Regions from separate parts of the Homo sapiens genome. Here all the other regions are linked to region 1. The links are contacts of gene promoters, found by promoter capture Hi-C in human tissues and cell types (Jung and others, 2019). All regions are on one chromosome and are shown on one strand. Each heading gives the region's core, a stretch centred on a gene start or on the middle of the fragment in contact. The rest is flanking DNA. Distances are from core to core; before and after follow the strand shown.

Region 1 (5,289 bases), core at 1,893-4,392:
CCACCATGCCCGGCCTGTGGTGTATTTTTTTTTAACTCTGGTCAAAGCAGTCATGCACACCTATAATCCCAGCTACTAGGGAGGCTGAGGTGGGAGGATCGCTTGAGCGCAGGAGTTTGAAACCAGCCTGGGTAACACAGCCAGAATCTGTCTCAATTAAAACAACAACAAAACCTCTTGTCTAGGTCAGTAAAATTGCAGGTAGAAGTTGTGGTAATACAAAATTGTGTACTTTTATCACCACTTACACACCATACACCTAAAAAGAGTGAATATTCTTGTGTCTAAATACATCTCAGTAAAGCGCAAGTTGGTTGGGATGTGAATGCATCTTACTGAGTAAAATGCATTAAGTCAGCCGGGCATGGTGGTTCACACCTGTAATCCCAGCACTGAGGGAGGCGGAGGCAGGAGGTTTGCTTGAGCCCATAAGGTCAAGACCAGACTGGGCAACATAGCGAGACCGCCCATCTCTACAAAAAAATAAAAATTAGCTGGGCGTGGTGGTTTACACCTGTAGTCCCAGTTACTTGGGAGGCTGAGGCAGGAGGATCTCTGGAGCCCAGGAGTTTGAAGCTGCAAGGCTATTGTACCACAAGGCTATCCATTGTGCCACTACACTCCAATCTGGGCGACAGAGTGAATCTTTTATCTAAAAAAAAAAAAGGCTGGGCCAGGTGCAGTGGCTCACGCCATAATCCCAGCACTTTGGGAGGCCGAGGAGGGCAGATCACGAGGTCAGGAGATCGAGACCATCCTGGCTAACATGGTGAAACACTGTCTCTACTAAAAAATACAAAAAATTAGCCGGGTGTGGTGGCAGACGCCTGTACTCCCTGCTACTGGGGAGGCTGAGGCAGAAAGGCCTGAACCTGGGAGGCGGAGCTTGCAGTTTGCTGAGATCGTGCCACTGCACTCCAGTCTGGGCAACAGAGTGACATTCCGTCTCAAAAAAAAAAAAAAAAAAAAGCTGAGTGCAGTGGCTCACACCTGTAATCCCAGCACTTTGGGAGGCCAAGACAGGCGGATCCCGAGGTCAGGAGTTTGAGACCAGCCTGGCCAATATGGTGAAACCGCATCTCTACCAATAATACAAAAATTAGCTGGGCATAGTGGCGCACACCTGTAGTCCCAGCTACTAGGGAGGCTGAGGCAGAAGACTTGCTTGAACCCAGGAGGCGGAGGTGGCAATGAGCCGAGATCATGCCACTGAACTCCAGCCTGGGCGACAGCGCGAGACTCTGTCTCAAAAAAAAAAAAAAAAGTAAGATCCATGTAAGTGATGTCATATGTCATAATCCATGGTTTACTCATGACCCACAGTTTGGAAAACACCAGGAAGAAGGAAGGGACAATGAATAATCGGGGAAAGCGAAAGAGGAGGGAAAGTGAAAGAGGGAGGAAAGCTGAGGAGTTCCCAATGTTGCAAATGGGGAGATTTCACGTGAGATATAGATTACCTGCATCTCTTGGGGGAGCTAAGAGTGTGTACTTGGAGGCAGTCAAGTTTGAGAAGTCTGACATCCTTACTCAGCCAGCCCCACACTAGGCACTGGAAGGTGAGTCACTCTGGTGAGGCGATTGCGATTGGGTGAGACCCAGTAAGGATGGAAAGTGTAGAGGAGACAGGAATCCACGGCTTTGGAAAAAGGAAGGACAAAACTCACCAAACCAGAGCAGGGCAGGAAGTAACAATGAGAAACTGAAAAAGAAACGGAATGGAAAGCTATGAGACAGGATGAAATTTGGCATGGGGTCTGCCCAGGCATGTCCATGCCAGGTGCCCAGGGCTGCTTCCACGACGTGGGTCCCCTGCCAGATTTGTGGTGAGTGTGGCCAGGTGTGCATGCTCCGACGTGTGTGCAGTGGGCCAGTTAGCAAGAAGCTGTCACAGGTGTGACTTTGTGACATGTGTGGGTGGTCAGTTTCTTCTATGTCTGATTTGGTTTGTGTCTCTGAATGTCAGTTTCTTTCCTTTATTTTTATTTTTAAGACGGAGTTTGCTCTTGTTGCCCAGGCTAGAGTGCAATGGCACTATCTCGGCTCACTGCAACCTCCGCCTCCCGGGTTCAAGCAGTTCTCCTGCCTCAGCCTCCCAAGTAGCTGGGATTACAGGCATGCGCCACAACGCCCGGCTAATTTTGTATTTTTAGTAGAGATGGGGTTTCATCATGTTGGTCAGGCTGGTCTCGAATTCCTGACCTCAGGCAGTCCACGCACCTTGGCCTCCCAAAGTGCTGGGATTACAGGCATGAGCCACCGTGTCGGGCGAATGTCACTTTCTGATAGTTTTAATGTGTTAGCTGTGAAATTGTGTGAGTGCATTTGTGTATGTCCCTGTGGGAGTGTGATTTGGATTTGGCCGTGTATCCAGGTATCCCTGTAACAGGTGTCTGTGTGTATGTGTGTGTCCCCTGTGCCTATCAGCAAGTTTGTGTTTCCTGATAAGCACTCCGCCTATGTCTGTGTGGTTGCACCACCGTGTGTGTGGTGTGGGTGCCTGTTCGGTAGGGTTGTTTGTGAACACAGTTTGTGGGCCCAGGTGTGATCATCAGTGTGGGTGTTTCTGCAACTGTGTGTGGCCCTGTCATTGTGTCCGTCTGCTTGTCCAGGGGACCCTGTTAGTGAGTCTGTGCATTTCCGTCTGGGTGTGTGTAAGTGTGAGCCCCATCAGTATGTGAGTGTGTGTGCTCATGCCCCTGTCCATGGTGTGGATTTGCGAGACTGTGGCCTTGTGTCTGTGAGTACATCCTCTGGGCTCTGCCTGCACGTGACTTTGTGGACCCTGGAACGCCCGTCGGTCGGTCTGTGTACGCATCGCTGGGGGTGTGGATCTGTGGGTCCCAGTCAGTGTGTGTGTCCGACTGTCCCGGTGTCTGGGCGATCTCCCCACACCCCGCCGCACAGCGCCTGGGTCCTCCTTGCCTTGGGCTAGGCCCTGCCCCGTCCCCCGCTGCAGGGAAACCCCCGGCGCGGAGGTAGGGGGGGGCGCGGCGCGCGCCTGCAAGTCCTGACTTGTCCGCGGCGGGCGGGCGGGGCCGTAGCGTCACGCGGGGGCGGGGCGTGGGACCCGCCGGGCGGGGGCGGGGCGGGGCGGGGCGGGGCGGCTTTGGAGCGGGCCCGGGATCCGCCGGGCGGCCTGAGACGCGGCGCGAGCCACATGCGAGCGGGCGCCTGGCGGCGGCGGCGGCGGCACCAGCGATCCCAGCAGCGGCCACGACGCGGACGCGCCTGCGGCCCGGGGAGCAGCAGCAGCCACAGCCACAGCAGCCGCCACTGCAGTTAGAGCGGCAGCAGCAGCGACAGCCACAGCAGCAGCCGCCGCGGAGAGCGGCGCTCGGCGGGCGCGCCCTCCTGAAGGAAGCCGCCCGCCCCCCACCGCCGCCCCCTCCGGCGTGTTCATGCCCCCGGGGTGAGTGTGCGCGCCCCGAATCCTCTCCGGCGGCGATCGGCCAGGCCGGGTGGACTCCCTGGAGGAGGTGACAGGAGTGCAGGCGGAGAGCAGTGTGGGCGCCCTGCCTCCCCACACCGCGCCTCTCCAAACCCCGCGAGGGACCCTGGGCCAGGGTCGCCGGGTGAGAGGCGGCTCGGCGTTGGGGCGCCGGTCTGGGCGCACAGGTGCCTCGGCGGTCTGGCGGGTTTGTTTACAAACAATGGGGTGCGGGCTCGGCAGCGCCCCCTGGCGGCCAGTGCGGCCCCGGGGAAGAGGGTCGACCCCAGGGGTGCCCCAGCCCCCAAAGTCCGGGAGGGGCGGGGGGGCGGCACGGAGGGGCGGCCACACCCAGGGCGCGCGCCCGCTGGGGGCGGCGACGGGGGGCGGCTCGCGGGCCGTGGAGTCTGCGGCTCCTGCGGGCGGGGGCTGCGCCCCAGCAACAGCCGGTTATTGGCCCCGCGCTCGCCTGGCGGGCGGGGCGGGCGCACGTGGCGGCGGTGGGGGGGGCTGTGACAGCGGAGGGGGGTGTCTGGGACCGCCGTGGGAGCGCGCGTGTGCGGGGTTGTGGATCTGCAGGTGTCTCGCCTGGGTGTGTGCGCGTGTCTGGCTCCGAGTTTGTGCTGGGTTCTGCAGGGAGTGGTGGTGTCGATCCAGAGGAATGTTGGGGTTTCTGACCCGTCGGGGTGTCTGCGTGAGTCCCCGCGCCTGTTTGTGTGGGGTTCTGTCTGTGGGTGCCCTGCTTGTGGGGTGGGTGGACCTGCGTGTGTTGTCGGTGAGAGTTGTCTGTGTGTGCTGTTCCGGGATGATACTGGGGGTCTGTGGTGCCTGCGTGTGCTGGGGTGTGGAGGTTGTAGTGTGTGTGTGTTGCTGGAGTGAGCTGTTTGTGTGTTTATGTGTGTGTCTTGCCCGAGCGTGCGATATGTGTGCTTGTGTCTTGCCTGTGTGTTTCTGTCTTGGCTGAGGCCGTCTCTGTATCTCCGGGGCATGTGTCTTTTGCCCAGCGTTTGTGATGCTGCGCCTGCTAAATGCAAATGTCTGTTTTCTGTCCAGGTGTCTGTGTGAGTTGTCAGGTGTGAGTGTGTGTGTGTATGTATGTGTGTGGTGGGGGGTTGTTTCAGTCTGGGTTTGGCTTGTGTGTCTGGCATCAGCGTCTGGGATTTGAGGACCCAGGATCTGTGGGGTCTATGCAGTGTAGACGGTGGGTGTTGCTGGCAGCCTCTGGATGGGGTTGTGTCTGAGCCTGTGTGTGTGTGTGTGTGTTGGGTCTGAGGGGCTTGTCACTGTGATCGGCTGGCTCATGTGTGTCATGTGGGCTGCGTGTGTGTAGTGTTTATGTCAGTCACGTGAGACCAGTGTTTTCTGTGGGTGCGCTAGGTGTGTGTGCTGCTGGGCTGTGTGGGATTAGAGTTAGCTGTAGGGTGTGTGTGTGTGTGTGTTGCTGACAGTTGGTGATGATGTTTGAGGGTTGCGTGAGGAGGGTGGGTTGGTGTCTGGTGGTGTGTTGAGGTCTGATGGCATGTGTCTGTGTGTGCCTGATCTACGTGTGTCCTGAGAGTTGGTGACATGTGGGTGTGTTTTGGGGGTGTTGATGTATGTGTGTCCGTGGGTGTCTGTTTTGTGTTGATATGTGAGTCCAGAGGTGTGCAGGTCTTATCTCTGGAGTGAGTGTGTGTGTGTGGAGAGGGGCATGTTTGGGAACTGAGGCAGTGCCTAGCTTGTGTGTGTGTGTTTGTGTTTGCAAAGGCTGCATTGTGTTTGCATGTGCCCCTGGGCATATCAACAGTGGGTCAGTGTGTGAGACTTTGACAGTTTGGATGTGTGGGGATGGATTGTGCCAGCCAGTGTGCGCAGTATGT
Region 2 (5,289 bases), core at 924-3,423, 450 kb after region 1:
TTTTGTATTTTTAGTAGAGACGGGGTTTCTCCATGTTGGTCAGGCTGGTCTCAAACTCCCGACCTCAGGTGATCCGCCCACCTCGGCCTCCCGAAGTGCTGGGATTACAGGCGTGAGCCACCGCGCCCGGACTTGGGAGTCCTCTTGGCTTGGAGCCATCCCTGGGATCTTCACAGCAGGAGAGGGTGATAATAAACCCACCTGAAGTTTACAGATCACTTATTGTCTGTAAAAAGCTTTAGCTCCTTTCAACTGGCATCTCATTGCATCCTCCCAGCATTCCCGTGAGGAATCTATTGGGTGTTGTGTAATCTGCAATCTGACTCATAGGACCTCCCTCCGGGGGTTGCTGGGAAGATTCAACATCATGTTCAAGGGCAGAGCACATCGCAAATGCTTCATACCTGGGAGTTGTTATTAAGACCCAGGCCATGGTCTTTCTAAAATTTGTATTTATTTTATTTATTTATTTATTTAGAGACAGAGTCTTGCTCTGTCGCCCAGGCTGGAGGTGCAGTGGCACAGTCTCAGCTCACTGCAATGTCTGCCTCCCATGTTCAAGTGATTCTCCTGCCTCAGCCTCCTGAGCAGCTGGGACCAAAGGCACGAACCACCATACCCAGCTAATTTTTGTATTTTTAGTAGAGACAGGGTTTTGCCATGTTGGCCAGGCTGGTCTCAAACTCCTGACCTCAAGCGATCCGCCCTCTTCGGCCTCCCAAAGTGCTGGGATTACAGGTGTGAGCCACCGCTCCTGGCCTTCAAATTTTTATTTTAAAAATGTGTGTTTTGGCTGGTTGTGGTACCTCACACCTGTAATCCCAGCACTTTGGGAGGCTGAGGGGGGAGGATTGCTTGAGGCCAGGAGTTAGAGACTAGCCTGGTCAACATGGCGAAAAACCCTCTCTACAAAAAAATACAAATATTAGCTGGGAATGGTGGTGTACACCTTTAATCCTAGCTACTACTCAGGAGGCTGAGGCATGAAAATCGCTTGAACCTGGGAGGCAAAGGTTGTAGTGAGCCAAGATTGCAACAGTACACTCCAGCCTGGGCAACAGAACGAGACTGTCTAAATAATAATAATAATAGTAATTTAAAAAAACGTTTTTTGAACTAGGATCTCGCTCTGTTGCCTAGGTTGGAGTGCAGTGTGGCATGATCACAGCTCACTGCAGCCCGGACCTCCTGGGTTCAGGTGATCCTCCCACCTCAACCTCCTAAGTGGCTGGGACTACAGACCCCAGCCACAAAGCCTAGCTCATTTTTTTTGTTGTTGTTGTTTAAGAAACTGGGTGGCCCAGTACGGAGGCTCATGCCTATAATCCCAGCACTTTGGGAGGCTGAGGCAGGCAGATCACGAGGTCAGGAGATCGAGACCATCCTGGCTAACACAGAAAAACCCTGTCTCTACTAAAAATACAAAAAATTAGCTGGGCGTGGTAGCACGCGCCTATAGTCCCAGCTACTTGGGAGGCTGAGGCAGGAGAATCGCTTGAACCTGGGAGGCGGAGGGTGCAGTGAGCCGAGATCATGCCACTGCACTCCAGCCTGGGCAACAGAGTGAGACTCCATCTCAAAAAAAAAAAAAGAGAGACATGTTGCCCAGGCTGGTCTTGAACTCCTGGGCTCAAGCGATCTGTCTGCCTTCACCTCCCTGCATGCTGGGATTACAGGTATGAGCCACCGTGCCTGGCCTATTTTTATTTTTTGTAGAGACTGGGTCTCGCTGTGTTGCCCAAGCTGGTCTCGAGAACTCCTGGCCTCAAGTAATCCTCCTGCTTTCACCTCCTAAAGTGCTGGGATTATAGGCATGAGCCACTGTGCCCAGCCTCTTTATCTTTCATCATCTGCAGAGAGCGTATTGGCTCAAGTCATGCTAGCTGCCATAGCAAACCAACCCAGGAAGTGTGAATGGCGCACCTTGATGGACATTTCTTTCTGTCTCCCATGTGAAGTCCAAATCTGGTGACTGCTTCACATGGTGATGGAAGCACTGAGACTTTTTTTTTTTTTTTTTTTTTGAGATGGAGTTTCACTCTTGTTGCCCAGGCTGGAGTGCAATGGCATGATCTTGGCTCACAGCAACCTCTGCCTCCCTGATTCAAGCAATTCTCCTGCCTGAGCCTCCCAAGTAGCTGGGATTGCAGGCATGCGCCACCACGCCTGGTTAATTTTGTATTTTTAGTAGAGACGGGGTTTCTCCATGTTGGTCAGGCTGGTCTTGAACTCCCGACCTCAGGTGATCCACCCACCTCAGCCTCCCAAAGTGCTGGGATTACAGGCATGAGCCACCGTGCCCGGCCTGCACGGAGAGTTTTATCTCCGGGCTGCTCTACCTTTGAGGGGAAAGAGAGCATGAGATTGGCATGGGGGCTTCAGGGGCCAGGCCTGGGAGTGGTGCCCATGCTGAAGCACACATTGCTGGGGCTTCTCCTGACCTCAGGAAGGCAGGAAGATGTGGGTAGGGTGCTGAGCCTCACGCCTGGCCACTGGGCCCGTGGAAGAGGCAACAAGCTGTCTCCTGTGTTACTGATCAGGTACGCCCCTGTGGGCATCATGTTCCTGGTGGCTGGCAAGATCGTGGAGATGGAGGATGTGGGTTTACTCTTTGCCCGCCTTGGCAAGTACATTCTGTGCTGCCTGCTGGGTCACGCCATCCATGGGCTCCTGGTACTGCCCCTCATCTACTTCCTCTTCACCCGCAAAAACCCCTACCGCTTCCTGTGGGGCATCGTGACGCCGCTGGCCACTGCCTTTGGGACCTCTTCCAGGTACGGCCTTGGGGTGGGCTAGGGTGGGATGTTTAATCCGCTAAGCGGCATGGAGCGGATGAAATTTTCTCTGCCCGGGACATTGTATCTGGGTACAGGGGCCATACTTCAGGAGATTCTCATAAGGTCCTGGATTTATCCCCACCCTTAAAAAGATAGGAAATGATTGCCCTAGAGATTTATTTCCCTCTTTCTTACACTGCCTCCCCGTGGCCCTGGAGGCACTCTTTTTTTTCTTTTGTTTTAAACAATGGCGTCTCGCTCTGTTGCCCAGGCTGGAGTGTAGTGGTGTGATCTCAGCTCACTGCAACCTCTGCCTCCTGGGTTCAAGTGATTCTCTGCCTCAGCCTCCCGAGTAGCTGGGACTGCAAGTGTCCCCCACCATACCCAGCTAATTTTTGTGTTTTTAGTAGAGACGGGGTTTCGCCATGTTGGCCAGGCTGGTCTCAAACTCCTGGCCTCAAGTGATCCGCCCACCTTGGCCTCCAAAAGTGCTGGGATTATAGGTGTGAGCTGCCATGCCCCTGGGGGGCTCTTAAGTTCTGCTCTGATTCAACCTCAGAACTCCTTCCACCGTCTCTCCTGGGCATTTCATTCATCCCTGCTGGCCCTGTCCCCTCCCAAGACAATAGTAATTCTTAGTGTATTATTGGTGAGAGTCAGCAGGACCCAGACAGTAGAATTTAGGTGTGAATTGTGTGGGTATTTTGGGAGGTAGTAGTCTATACTCTCCCAGGGGTTCCAGGACTCATGGATTTTGTAATCCTGGTATTGAGTTCCCTAGTGCTGCCTGCTTGTGGGAAAAGAGCTTAGATATAGCAAGTGAGGGCTGGGGGTGGAGTCAGGACATGGTAGGAGGGAAGGGGGGTCTAGGTTAGATGTGGGGGCCTTGGGCCAAGGGACAGACTGGGGACGTGGGTGGGACTTCGGCTGGGCAGGTGGTATGGGCAGGATCTGGTGGGCGGGGCTTTGGCTGGGCAAGTGGTATGGGCGGGATCTGGGTGGGCGGGGCTTTGGCTGGGCAGGTGGTGTGGGTGGGCTCTGGGTGGGCGGGGCTTCAACTGGGTGGGTGGTGCAGGTCAGACCTGGAGGGTGGTTGGGTGACAGGGCTTTGCTTAGGCAGGCTCTGGTGGGGATCCACTGGGTGGGGTGGGTGGGGCTTTGGCTGGTTGGGGTGGGGTAGGCGAGGCCTCACCTGGGCTGGACCTGGAGGGTGGGCGGAGCCCCGGTCAGCAGGTTAACCTAACTCAGCTCCCCCATCCCTTGCAGTTCCGCCACGCTGCCGCTGATGATGAAGTGCGTGGAGGAGAATAATGGCGTGGCCAAGCACATCAGCCGTTTCATCCTGCCCATCGGCGCCACCGTCAACATGGACGGTGCCGCGCTCTTCCAGTGCGTGGCCGCAGTGTTCATTGCACAGCTCAGCCAGCAGTCCTTGGACTTCGTAAAGATCATCACCATCCTGTGAGTGTCAGGGGGCTGCGGATGGGACCCCCGGACCCCTGTTGACCCCCATCTTCTCCCACAAGACAGGCATCTGCCTAACCTCCCACCTTCTCCCTCAGGGTCACGGCCACAGCGTCCAGCGTGGGGGCAGCGGGCATCCCTGCTGGAGGTGTCCTCACTCTGGCCATCATCCTCGAAGCAGTCAACCTCCCGGTCGACCATATCTCCTTGATCCTGGCTGTGGACTGGCTAGTGTGAGTGTGGGTCTGGAGACTGGGGCAGGGCCAGGGGTACCCCTGGGAAAGAGGATGAGTGAGTGAGAGTCCTTAGAGCCTCTGGACAGAAGAGGAAGAGAAGAAGGAAGGAATTCTGGAGGAAATGGGGGGAACCTTGAGCATTCCTGAGGGCAAGGAATGGCATCTTTGTGGCTCTAAGAGGGATGTCAGAAAAGTAGAGCGTCTGTGTGGTGAATACAGCAGACTCTTCAGCCAGACTGCTCAGGTTCACATCCCAGCTCCAACATTCACTGTTGTGACCTCGGGAAGTGCTTAATCTTCCTGCGTCTCAGTTTCTCCATCTGTAAAACGGGGAGAAGAACAGTCTCTCCCTAAGGATTAGATAACAGACACACCTCCCTTAGAGCAGCCCCCAGTAAGCAGTAATTGCTACATAATTATTTGCTATCACGATTAAGCTATTAAGAGTATAAAGATTGGAAAGCAGCCAGGCACGGTGGCTCACACCTGTAATCCCAACATTTTGGGAGGCCCAGGCAGGTGGATTATTTGAGGTTAGGAGTTTGAGACAAGCCTGACCAACATGGTGAAACCCCATCTCCACTAAAAATACAAAAAAATTAGCCGGGTATGGTGGTGTACGCCTGTCCTGTGATCTCAGCTACTCAGGAGGCTGAGGCAGGAGAATCGCTTGAACTTGGGAGGTGGAGGTTGCAGTGAGCCGAGATTGTGCCACTGCACTCCAGCCTGGGCAACAGAGTGAGATCCTGTCTCAAAAAAAAAAAAAAAAAAAAATTCTGGAATTAATTATTGGCAATGGTTGCACAAGTCTG
Region 3 (5,289 bases), core at 1,961-4,460, 340 kb after region 1:
TCCACCTACCTCGGCCTCCAAAAGTAGGCACTTCTTAGGTAACGTATCTGCCTGGTGACTGGTATAAGGCTTTGGAATTCACAGATTGGGAATGAAAACCATGTAAATGGTCACTCTAATTCTAAAAAGCAACTTGAAAACAAATCTCATCCAAAGCACTCAGCAAAGGATTCCAAAGCCCTTTCAGCCCTGAAATGTAGCCACTGGTGAGGGAAGGTGGAAGAAGTTCAACTGACACATGGGGCAGAGATTTTTGCCTCTTCCTTGTCAAAGCTCCCCTTGACCCTGTAAAGGCTGTTTCTAAGTTTCTGTAGGGCCTCTTTTTTTTTTTTTTTGGTTAAAGATCTAGCCTGAAAATCCCATTACAAAAACTGCCTAGAACACAGTTTACCTTTCTTGGAAAGATGAAGAACCAAGTTAATCCAGAATACACTCAAATCCCCTGGCTCTTGAAAGTCTCAGTTTTCAACCTGCTTGGAGATTGTTTAGACAAATCTCTAAGTCTTAACTAAAATTCATTTTCAGGTATTATATTAAGCCAAGATAAATAGAAAGTGTTGGAGGTCGTAAAAAAAAAAAAAAAGACAAAATAAACCCACTACCTTCAAGGGTTAACAACTACTAAAACTATACTTATGGCCCTTCATCACTGCATTTGCTAACCCAGCTTTCCATTAACAAAAAATGCCTCATGAAATGGACACCTTGGAGAAAATAAGTGCACCCCAATAAGTGCACAAAGCAGCTTGACTCTTGCTGATTTCCAGGATGACTGATGAAAATGGGCCATCAGTTGTTGTCATTTTCATACTTCCTTTGACAACATGCTGAAGGCTGGGCGCGATGGCTCACGCCTGTAACCCCAGCACTTTGGGAGGCTGAGGCGGGTGGATTGTTTGAGTTTAGGAGTTCAAGACCAGTCTGGCAACATGGCAAAACCCTATCTCTACCAAAAAAAAAAAAAAAAAAATTAGCCAGGTGTGGTGGCATGCGCTTGTAGTCCCAGCTACTTGGGAGGCTGAGGTGGGAGGATCCCTTGAGCCTGGGAGGCGGAGGTTGCAGTGAGCTAAGATCGCGCCAATGCACTCCAGACTGAGTGACAGAACAAGAAGCTGTCTCAAAAGAAAGAAAGAAAAAAAGACAACATGCCCAGTAGATAAATGCTTGAACATTTTTAGCTGGTCCATTATTACTTCTAAAAACCTTACCATAGGAAATCATGCCCTACAATCCATATTAAGCATTTCTCACAGTAACCCAACAGAGCAGCTACTATTATAATCCCCATTTTACAGATGAGAAAACAGGCTTGCAGAGGTCAAGAGACTCGTTCAAGATCACCCGGCTTAGTATGGCCCCAGCTGCCTGCCTCTGAGGCCCACACACGTGGCTTAACCCCAATACTGCACTGCTGCAAAGCCAGAATGGACAAAAACAGCTGCTGCACAGCGTGAGCTTTCTGGAGAAAACAGAAGCTACAACTGCTCTAATCCACTTGCTCTTTTACCAAAGCTCTCCACTGTGAGGGAAACAGTCTCTTATGTACCTAGATGCAAAACTTCATAATATATTTCCCACAATATTTTGTATATGTACCTTATGCTGCTCAAAGTACTATTACAAAACTTGCCTTCTTAGCTTTTATTTGAGACAGGGACTTGCTGTTGCCCAGGTTGGAGTGCAGGTGCAGTGGCGCAATAACCACTCACTGCAGCCTTGACCTCCCGGGCTCCGGTGATACACCTCAGCTGGGACTACAGGTGCACACCATCACGCCTGGCTAATTTTTTGTAGAAACAGGGTTTCACCATGTTGCCTAGGCTGGTCTGAACTCCTGAGTTCAAGTGATCCTCCCACCTAGGCCTCCCAAAGTGCTTGGGATTACAGGTGTGAGCCACTGTGCTGGGCTTCCTTATAGCTTTTTTTTTGAGACGGGGTTTCATTCTTGTCACCGAGGATGGAGTGCAGTGGCGCGATCTTGGCTCACTGAAACCTCTGCTTCCTGGGTTTAAGCGATTCTCCTGCCTCAGCCTCCCGAGTAGCTGGGACTACAGGCATGTGCCACTAAGCCCAGCCAATTACGTATTTTTAGTAGAGATGGGGTTTCACCATGTTGGCCAGGCTGGTCTCAAACTCTTGACCTCAGGAGATCCGCCTGCCTCAGCCTCCCAAAGTGCTGGGATTACAGGCATGAGCCACCGCACCTGGCCTTCCTCACAGATTTTTAAATCCACCCGGGAAGGGTAAGTATTCTCTTCATTTCACAGACAAGGGCATTGGGACCTGGAGACTAAATTATTTGCCCAAAGTCAGAGGATTCAATATGCTCTCTCCTCAATAGGATTACTGATATCACCCAAGCCTCACAGAAGAACAGAATTTCTGCCAGAGTTAACCATAAAGACCATTTCTAATTGATGGGAAATGGTCGCCTTTCAACTTCAGTAACTTGCAATTAAGGATATCATTTTACTTGCCTGAGCATTAAATTGTGAGAAAACACCAACGTGCACTTTTCTTAATTTCCCAAACCATAGAAGGGATAAGATGCTATAAGATTTTGCCCGGCTGGGCGCGGTGGCTCACGCCTGTAATCCCAGCACTTTGGGAGGCCGAGGCGGGTGGATCACGAGGTCAGGAGATCGAAGACTATCCTGGCTAACACGGTGAAACCCCGCCTCTACTAACAATACAAAAAAATTAGCCGGGCGTGGTGGTGAGCGCCTGTAGTCCCAGCTACTCGGGAGGCTGAAGCAGGAGAATGGCGTGAACCCGGGAGGTGGAGCTTGCAGTGAGCCGAGATCGCGCCACTGGACTCCAGCCTGGGTGACAGAGCGAGACTCCGTCTCAAAAAAAAAAAAAAAAGATTTTGCCCTTAAATTTCAGCTTTTTTCCCCCTCATCCAATTGCAAAAATTCATTTCTATTTACACAGAAAGTATACCTTTAAAAAAAAGTTACCAAAAAAATATGAAGCTCACTATTCTGGAAATACTCTTTCAAGGCTTCAGGAAAAGTACCTTTCCTACCAACTAGCAGTATTCACATAAATCCTAAGGGTCTGGCCCTCCTATAAGGATGATGATAAGTTAAATACTATGGGAAGAAAATCAGTCTCAAATTTAAAGGAATTAAAATGCCTGTAGTAAAAATCAGTGAGTAGGTGAAAATCTAGAAAATCTCTCTCTATTATCTCAATCTCAAGGACCATTACAAAACGGCAGAGTAAGACATGACATAGGAGACAGCAGAAAAAGATACATGGCTTTCCTTTCACTAAAAGTATGGCCGGGCGTGGTGGCTTGCACCTGTAATCCCAGCATTTTGGGAGGCTGAGGCGGGCAGATCACCTGAGGTCAGGAGTTCTAGACCAGCCTGGTCAACATGGTGAAATCCCATCTCCAATAAAAATACAAAAATTAGCTGGGTGTGGTGGCACATACCTGTAGTCCCAGCTACTCGAGAGGCTGAGGCAGGAGAATCGCTTGAACCCAGGAGGCAGAGGTTACAGTGAGCAGAGATCGTGCCACTGCACTCCAGCCTGGGCAACAGAGCGACTCCGTCTCCAAAAAAAAAAAAAAAAAAACCAAAAAACAGGATAGAGTGTAAACCAAAGTCAATTACATCTAAAGTTTTTCAAAGGAAAAAATAAAAACTGCTCCAAGGAATGAGTCATAAAGTGATATTTATAAATCAAGAATATCTTAGAAATTTCACATCATTGATCCACTCTCAAAAACTAACCTCAAGGTAAGAATCTCACTTCATCAAGTTATTTTTTCTAAGTTCACCAGATCTAAAGAAAGCTTGACTTTGTCCATGAGCTTCCAAGTAGTGTGGAAAATAATTTTCCTTGAAATCCACAGGCAAGGGATTGCATCCTAATTGCATCATTTGCTCTTTGTTTTGAGGATACTGGAGATAATTCTAAGGACAAGGGAGAGAGTTGTGCTTAAAAATACTCAGCCTAATCACAAAATGGAACCACTTCAAGAACAACTGCACCCTGAATTTATGGTAAAAAAAAATCCCAAATCAGTAGAGAAGTTTGGTTTTTCCCTGACAAGCAGCCTTCACCAATATAAAGTTGTATTTAAGAATAATGGCAGAGACAGTTTGAAATCTTAAAAAAAAAAAAAAAAAAAGAGAAAGAACGAACGAACGAACTTATGTTAAGGCAGAAACAAAATATCCAAAATATCCATAAATAAATGGACTTCCCCCCCAATACATTTTTCACTGGTGAAGATGATATTACAAACCTACATCCCAATCTAGCTAAAGGATCACTTATTGAAAGATTTAAGTCCCCAAATCTACCTAAACCCTGGGATCATTAGTTCATACTCCTATTGGTACAATTCAATTTTAAACTTTTAAAAAACCTAAGTCAAAACCAAGGGGGGCAAAACCAAGGGGGGAGAGAAGTATTCATAATAAACAAGGTAAGTGTGTTTTATAATCTTTAAAGTGCTTTCTCATTTGATCCTCAAAACAATCCCAAGCAGAAGTTGGTGCCCATTCTTCAGATGACAGAATCACAGCATTTTAAGGCTAGAAAGGACTAACTTCCCACCCAATGCTTCCCACTAGAAAAGAAGGGGTCTTGTCTGGTGGCAACCTACTATATTCCCAGGACCTAGAGTAGTACCTGGTATACGGTAGATGCTCATCAACATCACCTCTATTATATGTTCAAAAAGTCCAACCCGAACAGTTTTTGAAGGTGTTAACTCCAGTCCAGAAGTGATATGACCTGGCCAAGACCTTATGGCTGGCTACCTGTTCCCCACACTCCTGCTTCCTAACTCAGGGCAGGCTCCTCCCCCTATTCAGGTTGTCAGTGAAACTCTAAGGGTTTCCCAAGCTCCCCCGCAGAATTCACTGGTATCTGAAAATTTTAATTTATAGCCTTCTCCCTTACACAGGTGTTTGTTTCCTTCATATGTATCACTCTTCACTTAGTTCCACAACCCTTTATTTAGCACCTACCATGTGCAAAGGACCATGACGGTGAAGGATCCGAAGATGAGAGTCAGTGCTCTCCAGGGAGTTATAAGCTGATGAGAACTCTAAAAGGCAACACCAGGAAGCTCTGATGCATGGAGAACTGGACTTACAAATGTTGGGAGAAGAGATACTCTAGGCAGAGGGACCTCATGAACATACAAAGCCTGAACACAGTGTTCAGGAAAAAGCAAGTGGTCCGGCCTGATTGCAAGGTACAGTGCAGAGACGCCCCAACTCAGAATCAACCTATGGAAAGAACTATGAGGACAAGCAGCTAACA
Region 4 (5,289 bases), core at 881-3,380, 260 kb after region 1:
CAAGTTAGAGACTGCAGGGGTGTGAGTTTGCTCTCCCCCACATTACCTGCTCTACACTGCACTGGGTTCCTCAAATCACAAATATTTCTGCAAACACCAAGGATGGCTCTTGTAGCAGCAATATCCCATAGCATTAAGAAGTGAAACACAGCTTGTGTGCAATATATTGCCAATGGAAATAGCTTAGGGCTGGGTAAGGAAAAAGAAAAATGTTGACAGACTTAAGCCAAGATGAGATCTTGAAGTGATCAAGCCCCAAGAATTCACCCTGCACCCCATGACTTTCTTTCTTTGTCCCAATCTAATTCAATCCGTGGAAAGAAAAATTCACTAATTCCTTCAATAGATACCCGAGTGCCTACTATGGGTCACAGGTAATGGAAAGAAGAGGCAGTCTTTGCCCCAATTCCTCACAGTTCAGTAGGGGAAACAGAGAAGCCAGGCAGCGGAGCAAAGGCAGCGTGGTGGCAGTGGTGGTGTGTGCAGGGGTCCAGCTCTCCTGGTGCTGCTGCCTCACTTGCCTTGGCAGGTGGGAGGGGGGTATTCACAGAAGCATTCCTAGGAAAATACAGAGGGCAGATGGAAAAACAAAGTCCTCGAATCCAGCCCAGTAACACTTGTAGCAGACAGATCCAACAATGGCATGAGTAGATCTCCTTCAGAGAACCTAGGAAAGACGTGTTGCTTCTCTGAGCTGATGACACCCCACAGAAAACAAGTCGCTGAGTGGTTATTGAGGGCAGGACTGGTCCAACCCTCTGCCCCTAGACCTCTGCAGGAGGCAAGTGCTCTCTAAGGGTCTGTGTGTCGCAGCTCACGCGGGCTGGATGCAGACGTTCACCGAAGACACTAGTGCTGTCTCCCATCCCTGGTTGCTCCTGAGAGTGGAGCAGTGCCTCAAGCAGTCCGACAGAGTGTATGTGCCAGACAGGAGAAACCACCAGGCAGTGAGGAAGCTTTGTCAGAGCAGGTCTCTTCTCCAAGGACCCACCTCAAAAAGAACACAGGCCACTGCAGACTCAGTGAAAAATTTTAAGTAGCAAACCTGGAGTAAAACATCTATCCACCTATCCTCCGTTTATTATGATTATTATTTCACAACCGTTTTATTGAGATATAATTCACACAACATACAATTCACCCACTGTGAGAGTGTCCAATTCGATGGCTGTGAGCACATTCAGAGTTGCACAAGTATCACCACAATTTTAGAGCACTGTCATCAACACCCAAAAAACTGTATCCATGAGCAGCCACTCCAAATTTCTCCCTTCTCGCAGCCCCTGGCAACCACTCATCTACTTCTTTCTATTTTTTTTTTGAGACAGTCCTGCTCTCTGGCCCAGGCTGGAGTGCAGTGGTGCAACCTTGGCTCACTGCAACCTCTGCCTTCCAGGTTCAAGAGATTCTTCCGCCTCAGTCTCCTGAATAGCTGGGATTACAGGCACACACCACTACGCCCGGCTAATTTTTGTATTTTTAGTAGAGACAGGGTTTCATCATGTTGGCCAGGATGGTCTTGAACTCCCGACCTGAGATGATCTGCCTGCCTTGGCCTCCCAAAGTGCTGGGATTACAGGTGTGAGCCACTGCACCCGGCCCACTAATCTACTTTCTATCTTTATAGATTAGCCTATTCTAGATAATTCTGTGTAAATGAGATCATGGGCCATGTGATCTTGTGTGACTAGTTTACCTCACTTAGCGTAATGTTTTCAAGGTTCATCCATCTGTAGCACGTCACTACTTTGTTCCTTTTTACGGCCGAATAATATTCTACTGTATGAATATATTATATCTCGTTATCCATTCACTCATCAGTGGGATATTTGGGTTCTTACCATTTTGGGGCTATTATGAATAATGTGGCCTCCATATTATTTTGAACCCAAATTCTGAAGTGACCTACAGATATTTCCCCAAACTCAGGAAGGATGTGTGTGACACTTTGTGGCTGGCCTCCAGCCGAGGGACAGCAGGCTTCCCATTAGCCTTGCCGGTGGATTCCCTTGCTTTCTTCCCTCCTGCTCTGCTGACCCACAGCTCCTTCTGTCCAAGCCCATTTATTTAGATATCCCACCTAAATGTTTCACACGCATGCCCTATCAGCAACACACATGCTGTGCCCCTACACTAAACACTGGGCATTTGCTCCTGCCCAGATACTGCCACCTTGCTCAAGACCTTAGTGTTATATGAATCTTCTTCCTCCTCCCTTTCTATGTATACAATTCCACGTTTCCACCACTGAATGAAGCTTTTGAGGGGAGAGGTCTCTGGAGTGTTTCTGTGCCATTCAGTCATTCATCATCATTTACTAGAGCCCTGTATGCTTGGCTTGGAGGAGACAATGAAGATGACCCGGTCCCTTCCCTCAAGGAACTTAGGATCCATTGAGGAAGGAAGACAATCAGAGTACAGTGTGCTACGTGTTCACTGGGAAAGCACAGGGCGTGACAGACATGGCAGGGAGCCCTGGCTCACAGAGCAGGTCAGAGAAGGACTCCGGGCGTGACAGACACGGCAGGGAGCCCTGGCTCACAGAGCAGATCAGAGAAGGACTCTGGGAGGGAGTCTCGAAGTGGAACAGCAAGGAAAGGCAGTGCGGGTGAGAAATATAATGGCAGCTTAAGGAACTGTGCGTAGTTTTAATCTGTGGGCTGAAGTTTAGAGTGAATGAAGGAAATGGCAAGAGGCAGAGCTAGACAGTGGGCAGGGACCACATCCTGCTGGTAAGTAGTAGGATGAAACTTCATCCTAGAGTGATACAGAACCACTGATGAGTTTTAAGCAGGTGAAGATGAAGTGATCCCATTTATTTTGGAAAGATATTTGCAGCAGTGTGCATAAGGGACTGAAAGGACATGAGACCAGAAACAGGAAGGTCAATTACAAAGAGGCTACCACAGTAAACCAAGAAGAGGGTGAGAGACTAAACGCAGGGGCAGGGGCCAGGCTGAAAACACGCTTAGGTGGTAAAAACAATGGGACTGACTGATGAGGTTGACTGGTGTGGGAAGGTAACAAGGGAGAGACCCCCTCCCCATGGAGGACATGCTGTTGACTCAGGTCAGCAGATTCTCTGGGATGAAAACCTTCAAACCCTACCTTCCCGCAAATGGTAACGGTGAGGGCTGACAAGCTTTCTCAGGAGTGAGAAAATCCTTCTTCCAAATGAAATCTTAAACTGAACCTTAAGGCTGAAGGATCCAGAGTCCTGGTGGCCTGACCTTTCCCGTCCCCATGCAGAAGGACTCCCTTACAATTCTAGGGATCTGAGAAAAAAAAAAAAAATCTGAAAAGCCCAGGCCAAGTCCAATTGCTGGAGGCTGACGTTCAAAGGATTTTAGGGCAATATGGCTACGTGGTCAGCACGGCCTCTCACCTCTACACCTGACTCTCATTCAGTTGACTTTCCACACCTAGACTATTCCTCCCATCCTGTTAGAGAATCCAGTGTATCTTTAAGGACAAGCCTCCATCCCAGACTCCAAGCAAGCAAGCTCCCTGACTTCTGCAGCACTAACCCCTGCAGCCTCATGGGCACTGGGCAAACTGACTGTGGAGAGATATTAATTTTCTCTTTGATGTGTGTAGTCATCTCCAATGGGGGCTGGCCTCAGGCTTCCTCAGGATCTTCTTGGCTTCAAAAATGCCTTGTACTTGATAGGCCAGAAATATTATTATAGACTAACTTATTACACTCACTCCATCCCATCAACCCTAGAAAGTAAGACAAACAACTGTAATGACTACACAAGAAAAAAGAGAAGAGGAAAAAAAGCAGAGAGGTGTCATGACTTTGAAATGAAGGACCATACATTACAAAGATGTTCAATTGCATTTTTTGGGGGTGGGGGACAGGGTCTTGCTTTGTTACTCAGGCTGGAGTACAGTGGTGCAACCATGGCTCACCATGGCTTCAACCTCCCACGCTCAAGTGATTCTCCTGCCTCAGTCTCCCAATCAGCCAGGACTACAGGTATGCACCAGCACACCTGATTAATTTTCTAATTTTTTGTAGAGACAGAGTCTCGATATGTTGCTGGGGCTGGTCTTGAATTCCTGGGTTCAAGCAATCCTCCTGCTTCAGCTTCCCAAAGTGTTGGGATTACAGGCATGAGCCACTGCGCCTGGCCTCAATTGCATTTTGTATATAAATAAAATAAAAATCTCAATGGAATGGTTAAAATGCACTAAATAAAATAATACCAAAAATCGTATAAATATTTTGCAAAGAAAGAAAAAAATACCAAAAATATCTTTAAAAGATCCAATAGAAAATATCACATATGGCAAACTGGAAGGTTGCAAAGTAGACCCCAGGGGCTGCTGGATGTACAAGTGAAGCTAGGTATTGAGGCTGGGGAGACTGAGGGTTTCCAACTAATACTTCCTTTATTGACTTGGTTTTGACCAGAGAAGACTAAGAGTCCTTCTAGGGGGCAATATGAACTATCTTATTCATATTTTAGCCTCCAGCATCTAATGGAACTGACACATAACAGGTGTTCAATTATTCTTTTAGGATTGTAAAAACTAAACATTGTGAGGCTAAAGAATATTCTGGCAAAGACAGCAATTATGGGAATGAAACATGGAGTTGAAAAAGATTAATCCAGGCCGAGTGCAGCAGTTCACGCCTGTAATCCCAGCACTTTGGGAGGCTGAGGCAGGAGAGTCACTTGAGCGCAGGAGTTGGAGATCAGCCTGGGCAACATGGCGAAACCCCATCTCTACAAAAAATACAAGAATTAGCTGAGCATGGTGGTGTGCACCTGAAGTTCCAGCTACTTGGGAGGCTGAGGTGGGAGGATTACTTGAGCCTGGGAGATCGAGGCTGCAATGAGCCATGACTGTGCCACGGCACACCAGCCTAGGTGACAAAGTGAGACCCTGTCTCAAAACAAACAAACAAACAAACAAACAAACAAACAAAAAACCCAAGAAAAAGACCCAGAGAAAAAGTTGAATTTTACCAGCTATTAAAGCACTTTTGAGAGTAAAAATTTAGGAAACATGATTTTGGTATAAAAACAAGAAAGTAAAATCAGTAAAACAAAAGAAATCTTAGAAAAGACTCTTTTTTTTTGAGATGAAGTCTCGCTCTTGTCCTCCAGGCTGGAGTGCAATGGCGCAATCTCGGCTCACTGCAACCTCTGCCTCCTGGGTTCCAGCGATTCTCCTGCTTCAGCCTCCTGAGTAGCTGGGATTACAGGCACCTGTCACCACGCCCGGCTAATTTTTGTATTTTTAGTAGAGACGGGGTTTCACCATGTTGGCCAGGCT

What was found. Contacts are between HindIII fragments. The study calls those that stand out against the background at their distance.
Region 2: a fragment that was not itself captured here is called in contact with the fragment with the promoter of BBC3 in region 1 in 1 of the 25 tissues and cell types used here (IMR-90 fibroblasts).
Region 3: a contact is called between a fragment that was not itself captured here and the fragment with the promoter of BBC3 in region 1, in 1 of the 25 tissues and cell types used here (hippocampus).
Region 4: a fragment that was not itself captured here is called in contact with the fragment with the promoter of BBC3 in region 1 in 3 of the 25 tissues and cell types used here (bladder, liver and stomach).

Annotation. Positions count from the first base shown.
Region 1 is chr19:47,229,052-47,234,340 of GRCh38, reverse strand. It overlaps BBC3 (BCL2 binding component 3), which reads left to right and starts at 3,142. Exons shown (of 4, transcript NM_014417.5): 1 at 3,142-3,412. RefSeq lists enhancers at 1,606-1,875, 1,302-1,925, 2,635-2,754 and silencers at 2,895-3,124, 3,265-3,984. The HindIII fragment of the contact is 48,720 bases long and covers 1-5,289 here.
Region 2 is chr19:46,776,160-46,781,448 of GRCh38, reverse strand. SLC1A5 (solute carrier family 1 member 5) reads left to right here. Exons shown (of 8, transcript NM_005628.3): 5 at 2,541-2,774; 6 at 4,044-4,238; 7 at 4,340-4,474. Among named protein-coding and RNA genes, the nearest start is that of SLC1A5, 9.8 kb to the left of the region's middle. The HindIII fragment of the contact is 7,318 bases long and covers 1-5,289 here.
Region 3 is chr19:46,892,742-46,898,030 of GRCh38, reverse strand. The region is part of intron 1 of ARHGAP35 (Rho GTPase activating protein 35); the gene reads right to left. Among named protein-coding and RNA genes, the nearest start is that of ARHGAP35, 34 kb to the right of the region's middle. RefSeq lists a silencer at 4,957-5,036. The HindIII fragment of the contact is 4,402 bases long and covers 1,010-5,289 here.
Region 4 is chr19:46,965,117-46,970,405 of GRCh38, reverse strand. All of the region lies in intron 3 of ARHGAP35 (Rho GTPase activating protein 35), which reads right to left. Among named protein-coding and RNA genes, the nearest start is that of NPAS1, 52 kb to the left of the region's middle. The HindIII fragment of the contact is 4,877 bases long and covers 1-4,568 here.